2 separate regions of the Homo sapiens genome follow, and region 2 is linked to region 1. Evidence: promoter capture Hi-C in 16 types of primary human blood cells and fetal thymus (Javierre and others, 2016). All regions are on one chromosome and are shown on one strand. Each heading gives the region's core, a stretch centred on a gene start or on the middle of the fragment in contact. The rest is flanking DNA. Distances are from core to core; before and after follow the strand shown. Region 1 holds the start of MSANTD2 (Myb/SANT DNA binding domain containing 2). Region 2 overlaps ZNF202 (zinc finger protein 202).

Evidence for each region. The method cuts DNA at HindIII sites, captures the fragments that hold promoters and counts their contacts. A CHiCAGO score of 5 or more calls a contact.
Region 2: a contact is called between a fragment that was not itself captured here and the fragment with the promoter of MSANTD2 in region 1, in 1 of 17 cell types (total B cells). The highest score is 5.7, in total B cells.

Annotation. Positions count from the first base shown.
Region 1 is chr11:124,798,301-124,801,692 of GRCh38, forward strand. It overlaps MSANTD2 (Myb/SANT DNA binding domain containing 2), which reads right to left and starts at 2,106. Exons shown (of 4, transcript NM_001308027.2): 1 at 1,571-2,106. The coding sequence starts at 2,080. MSANTD2-AS1 (MSANTD2 antisense RNA 1) reads left to right here and starts at 2,128. Exons shown (of 5, transcript NR_103862.1): 1 at 2,128-2,956. RefSeq lists silencers at 749-798, 1,029-1,108, 1,509-1,748, 1,789-2,458 and an enhancer at 1,685-2,292. The HindIII fragment of the contact is 4,637 bases long and covers 192-3,392 here.
Region 2 is chr11:123,732,029-123,735,453 of GRCh38, forward strand. All of the region lies in intron 3 of ZNF202 (zinc finger protein 202), which reads right to left. Among named protein-coding and RNA genes, the nearest start is that of ZNF202, 7.9 kb to the right of the region's middle. The HindIII fragment of the contact is 2,341 bases long and covers 752-3,092 here.

The DNA.
Region 1 (3,392 bases), core at 856-3,355:
GCTACTGGGGAGGATTGTTTGAGCCCAGGAGTTCTTCAGGTTGGGCAAGAGAGGGAGATCCTCTCTCTAAATATAAATAAATAAAAATTAAAATTTAACCTTAATGACGTTGAATAGAACAAATGAGATTCAGAGAAGAGTAGCTTTGTCCTATTAGCTACTACTTTAATGTCTTTGTTAAAAAAAGAGAAAGCTTAAGAAGTCCCAAAGATAAATGTTATCAAATACACTAATTTAAATTTGTAATGGAGTAATTAATGGGTGGCAAATTCCTTGAACAATAGTAGGTTTTAAATATCTTAGTTTGTGGACCCAGTTTTCTAAGCAACAACATCCCCAAAGAAATACTACTGGAGCCAAGACCTGGAGAACTTTGGTGCAATTTCCCTCCTTTAGCTTACTCTAACTCATGATTGCGCCTATTAGACTTTATTATTGCTCTTTAGTGTGATCATTCTTATTTTATAATTGTTCTTGGTGGTTTTTATCCCCCCTCAAGAAGTTCCCAGAAAAAGTGCCAGCTGTATCAGAAAAGAAGTGCACAGATAATAGGATAAGTAGTTCAGTAAAAACTGGGAGAATCCTATCACAATCTTTTTAGCAGCCACTACGATGAGGAAATGAGCTTAACTAAAATACAACTCCTTATCTGCCAATAATACAAATATGAAAGCCTAGAGTCAGTTCTAGTAGCAAAATCTTAACCTGGCTAAGATTTCTAGCCCAAATTAAGCCTCTGCATTTAAACATGCAGGTACACAAGGACGGCCAGATGCACACTGAGAGTTCTACTTGTCACCACATCCGGCACAGAAACTGAAGCAGGGAAAAACTGGCTTTCCTGAAGGAGCTTCCTAAGAAACCGCAGGGCCTCAAGCCAATCTAACTCTGGAGGCATCGACAATCCAAATTCCAGACCAACTCTTGGCCAAGCTAACTTTTATGGTGTACACTAACTCCGCGGTAACAATACACAATCTGGCTACAATCAAGCCTTTCCAATTCTCCAAAGCATCTCTAGTCTTACTCGTCCTTCGTAGCTCAAGATAGAAGCAAAGCGACTGACACAAAGGCCAGTCGTCCCAAGGCGCTTTTTCTATGGCTCCGCTACGGCCACTTATTAACTATTCCTAAACTAGGGGCTCAATGCCCCCCCCTTCTGCCCTTCCTCAATCCTGCCCCGGCCGGTAAGCCTCTGCCTGGGAGCCCCTCCGCCTGGAACAAAGCGAGGGGCCCCGGCGGTGGGGGCAAGAGGCGCCAGCGGCACGGGGACTGCCGCACGGCGCACAATGAGAAACTACCAACTTCAGAGCGCAGGAACATCTCAATTGGCAAGAAAGAGGGGCGGCGGCAGGCACGCCCAACTTCAAACTCAGGAAACCTACGGGCTGGCGGCCATCTGGGAAAAAGCCCCCTTCCCAGGGAGAGAAGAAAAAGGCGGAGGAGATGCGAATCGCCCACCGGGCCCCGGAGGAGAGCCCTGCCCTCAGACCGGCCCCCGCCCCCGAGGCCCGCTTCCCCGCCTTCTCTCTGCCTCTGGTTCGCTGCCCCAGGCCGGGCGGCCGGTTACCTTGATGCGCTCCCGGCACTGGGACGGGGTCCGCTCGTAGCCCAGCTCGGCCAGGGCCCGGGACACGCGCTCGTACATGGCTGGCCCGGGGGCCTTGCTGCCGAACACCGTGCCGGCTCCCTCCAGCTGCTGGTACCGCGCCTCCACCAGCCGCTCGTTGCCCCACACTGCGATGAGCGCGTTCGTCTCGGCTGGCGTCCACGACATGCCCCGGCAGGCGGCGGCGGCGGCTGCCGCAGCCCCGCCACCGCCGCCACCAGGGGAGAAGGAGACCGAGGACGAGGCGGCGCTGCGGCCCCCCAGCCCCAGCCCGAGACCCCCGGACGCCGCTGCCCCCGAGCCCGCCGCACTGCCCGGCCCGAGCGGGGAGGCACCCCGAGGCGTGGAAGGGTCGGACAGCGATGGATTTCCGTCGCTCAGGCCACCAGGAGAAGCCGGGGAAAGCACCTCCATCTTCGGAATTTTTAGCGGCGAGTTGGCGGGCAGCTCCGAGCCACAGGGCGCAGCCATCTTCCAAGCGGCCGCCGCTGCACCGCCCGGAAGTGACGCGCCCGCGCATCCGGCCACCGCGGTCTCCGGGGCTGCCCTCGGGCCTGGCTCGCCCGCGGGCGGATGGCTCCGGGTCTCTGCTGCTGAGGATGTGGCTGCCGGGCGGAGGTCGTCCACTCCCCTGGGCCTTTCTCCGCGAGCCCTCCCACGCCGCCCGCTCCTCTCCCGGGGCGAAGGGCGGGGACGAGGCGCGCCGAAGCCCCGAGCTGAAGAGAAGGGTGGGGGCATGAGGGCGCTGGAGTGAGGAACAGATTGGAGCCTTCCCACTTCCTCTCCAATCTCAGCCCCCGGGAGGAGGGGTGAGGCCCTCGAGGGGGCCCGGAGTTAAGGAGGAATAGACCGTTTCTCTCTCTCCTGTCTCCCCCGCCTCTGCCCGTCTTCCCTCTAAGCCGGCCTCTAGGTGCAGAGGCTGACGTCCAGGATGGGGACCGGGGAAGCCTCTGGAGGGTATATCCGGGAAGGCACCAAGGCTGAAGTGAGAGCGGTTCTGGGGAAGGCTTTAAAAAGCAGATATGGACCAGGGTAGAGTTCGTACGCTGTAGCTTTTCAAGAACACCGATCTCATTAATTAAAGAACAGCAACTATTTAATTCCAGTTATAAACTATTGTTTTCCAGTTAGTCTGGGTAGGTGTGGCCGTTTGTAGAATAGTTAGATTACATTAGTCTATTGCGTTGGTACAGTTGTCTATAGCTTGAGCATATAAAAACTCCTGAGCCCAGCAGAAAAGTTACTTTCCAATACCAGTCTCCATCCTCCGTGCTTTGGAAGTTGCATCGTTTTCCGGTTTTTCGTACTCAAAGAACACTGTCAATTATGACAGCTCTGTGACCTCTGGTAATGAATTAGTGTATTAGTCACTCCTGAAACGTTCCTTAAAGTGCTGGAACTTAACAGTAGCACAGCACATCCAGTACACAGCTGTACCGTATTTCCATATTTTTCAAAGCTGAAAATCTTAATTGGATATCTTGGATCATTAACTTAAAACCTCAGCGGATTTTTCTTTCAAAGCAGACATAACTGAGGATGCTGACCAATGAATGCAAATAAACTATGCAATATTTTTTAAAATAACAAATGTATGTTAGTTTTTTTTAAGCTGAGGTCAACTATGTTTTGGGGGGTATGTGCTTTTTTAAATTATTGTTTTATTTCAATCGATTTTTGGGGGTAACAGGTGGCGTTTGGTTACATGAATAAGGTTTTTAGTGGTGATTTCTGAGATTTTGGTGCGTCCGAGCAATGTACACTGTATCCAATGTGTAGTCTT
Region 2 (3,425 bases), core at 672-3,171, 1.1 Mb before region 1:
TTTGAAGGTTGTTCCTTCTGCACAGGCTACTCTCCACCCTTCTCCTTTCCACGCTACATGGTGTGTTCTCTTTCTTTTTAACGGGTCTTGTCTTTATTCCCACAATTTACAGCTTAGGTCCCTCTCACTTCTCATCTGGATGACTGCAACTGCCTCCAAATGTGAGCTATCTGCCTCCAGATTTGTCACCTTCACGTACCCACTATGATCAGAACGAGCTCTCTTGGCAAACGTGCTCATGTCCCTTTCCTATCTAAGATCCTTCCATCACTCCCCGCTGTCTTGTTAAGTGAAATACAAACTTCAAACATTCTACATTAGGTTGACGTTCATCTTGTTATTCTCTTCGCCCTCCTCTCCAATCCTTTCAGACACACACGCACACACGTGTGTACATGCAAAGCACACAAGAGTCCCGTGTTCTTTAGCTTTTGAATATGCTGTTTCTTCTGATTCTTTATCCTTGGTTAGGTTAAACTTTAAATTTTTCAAGACATAAGCTCAAGCTTCATGTCTTCTGAGATGTTTTCTTTGATCCCATTTCCCCTACTCTCAGACATAGTTAGAAATCACCTAAGTCCTCCCGTAGTGACCTGGGCACCTCTCTATCCCAGTATTGGTCATATTACATAGCCATCGCTCATCTTTCCTGTGAAACTCTTTGAGGTCAGAGACTATTTTCCATCAATCTCCAATACCTATAATAAAGTGCACAATAAATGCATTTAAAATGAATAAAACTCTACTCCAAAGCTTCTTCCTATGGTAACAGGAAGAACCATTGTTTCCTCCATTATGCTTTTACTATCTCTTGATTATTCACCATATCCTGTTAATTCCAACTTCCAAAAAATGTCTTTCGAATCCATCCATCTCTTCATCTCTACTGCCATTTCCCGGTTGAGCCATTATGACCCACTAGAAGGTATTCATAGGAACTTTAAAAAAAATTACAATATCCTCTGCTCCTAAACGGCACTGGCACGTAACAGGCACGGATACATTGGAGAGATGACTTAGTTCAACCTCCATGACTGGTTTTCTTGGTCCTGTCCCCCTCCAGACCAGTGTCCACAAGCAGCTTAAGGGCTCCATCATTTCTCAACCTTTTTGTGCTATACTACAGTTGCCTCACATCCACATTCAAGGTTATCGATCCACTCTTAATAGCTGTGTCTCATCTATTGTTGCCCATCAAATGAGTTTACAGTCAATGATCACATTATCTTCATTCTTTCTCAAAACGCTTCTAATTCATGCTCTTATGACATTTTTTTCATTACCCTCAGTCACTTGCAACATACTTTCACAGTCTATCTTGGATAGCTCCCTAATTCCTAGATCTTCATGTGTAATTTTTCCTCTGCTATCTCTACCTCATGGTGATTTATTTTTTTCTCAAGTGGCTTGTAATTTTTTTATTTTATGTCCATCTTTTTACTTTGGGAGTCCTGAGAGCCCTGGATTTAAATGTGAGCCCCTTGAATGTAATTTCATTTGTTTCTTCCTAAGTGCTAATGGTTTCAATGATCTTGGACAGTTTGCTTTTTTAAGACTCTCCCTCTGTTGCCCAGGCTGGAGTGCAGTAGTACAATCATAGCTCACTACAGCCTGGATCTCCTGGCCTCAAGTGATTTTCCAACCTTGGCCTCCCAAAGCACTGTTACCAGAGGCTGAGCCACCATGCCTGGCCAAATCAGTTTTTATGTTAATTTCTCAGGGTGTTCCTGAATAATGCTTTTGTGTATTATTTAGATCGATGCCTTCAAGTAATGTTTGGCCTACCCAAGGTTCTGGAGAACCCACTTCCTTGCACTTTTCCTGGGTCAGTAGGACGATTTTCAAAGGTCCAGGTTTGCAGGCTGCTTAATTCTGTAACTTTCACACAGCGTCAGCTTCCCAAGTCCTATCTCCCTGTTGGAGTACCAGTATTAAAAGCTCAATCCCTAGAAACCTTATTTTGGTTTGGAATCTCACTGCGCCATGGTAAAGTCAGCTTATACTTATTTTTCTAGTGGTTATTTCTTTTTCCTTCTGGAACCTATGCGCTTTCCTTTAGCTTTTGAGAGAGAGAGACAGAGAGAGAGAGAGAGACAGACACACAGGGAGAGACAGACACACAGGGAGAGACAGCATGGGCTGTCCTGTTCCTGACAGGAACAGGATTTAATAATGGGCAGGAGGCCCATCCACATTAGCTCCACCTGCAATACTCCAAGTAGGTGAGTGGTGAACTTCCTAACATACAAAATCTGCCAATGGCTTCCCAGTGACCTTAGGTTAAAATTTAAACTTCTTAAAATGTGATACACAAAGACCTTCAAAAGCTGGTCCCTGCTACCTCTCCTTCCTTCCATGACTGCCACTCCCATTGAAAGCCACTGCAAGAATTACTGTTCTTTCTTTTCTATACCCTCCCTGGGCTTTCCTGATGCTGTTCACCTTGTCTGAAGTACCCTTCTCCACTCTTCATGTGGTTAACTCTATCCATCTTTCAGAGCTCAGTTTTTCCAAGATGCCTTCCCTGGTCCTCCCAGATGATGCTTCCACAGGAACTTGTATCTCCCCCTATCACAGCATGCACATGTGTCTATTTTTTGTGTCATCAAAACTGTTCATCTTCTGTTGAACTCACTGGACTGTAAAGCTCTGAGGGCAGGGATATGCTGTGCCCAGCTCGATGCCTGGCACACACCAGGCACTCACTTCACATTTGATGAATGCAGAGAATGCTTAGTAAGGTTTTAAAAGTCTGTTTCCAGAAGGATAGATACCATGTTATATTAACCCATATTCATCCATAAGTCTAGCAAACTGTGTGCTGGATAAAGGCATACATAGGGAAAAAAACATTTATTGTTTGGATTGTGAGTAAAACAGAATTCTCTTAGTGGTTCCCAAGATGATGGAACCACAACTCATCACAAGGAATCTTCAGGTTGCACCGGGAATAATCCAAATGCAAGTCACACAACACTTGGCATTTGAAAAAAAAAAAATCATTTTCCATTGAGGATTTAAATCAATTTTAATAAGCGCAAAATCAGACATCAAATAAATGGAACTACAATACTAATTATTTATCCAGACAAAGCTTTCCAAACCCCACCCCAACTCCTACCCCTGGAAGACAGAATTAATACATAGGGTCTTTTGGCTTAATAAAAGGACTTCTAGTATCTTAAAAGTTTGAGAACCGACGTCCAGTGAAGTAGACTTGGAATCCTCATTGTTTTCACGCAGCACTAGGTACAAGAGATTCCACAGTATGGATCCTACAACGTATGCATTGACAGAAGAGTTCCTGCTCTCTCAAAGGGCTTTGCTCTCCAAAGAAAAAAGAACATGTAACAGTGCCACACCAAACTTGCCATTTAAAAATGCCCTTCAGAAATCACAAGCTGAGATTTCTGGTGCTTGTTTTG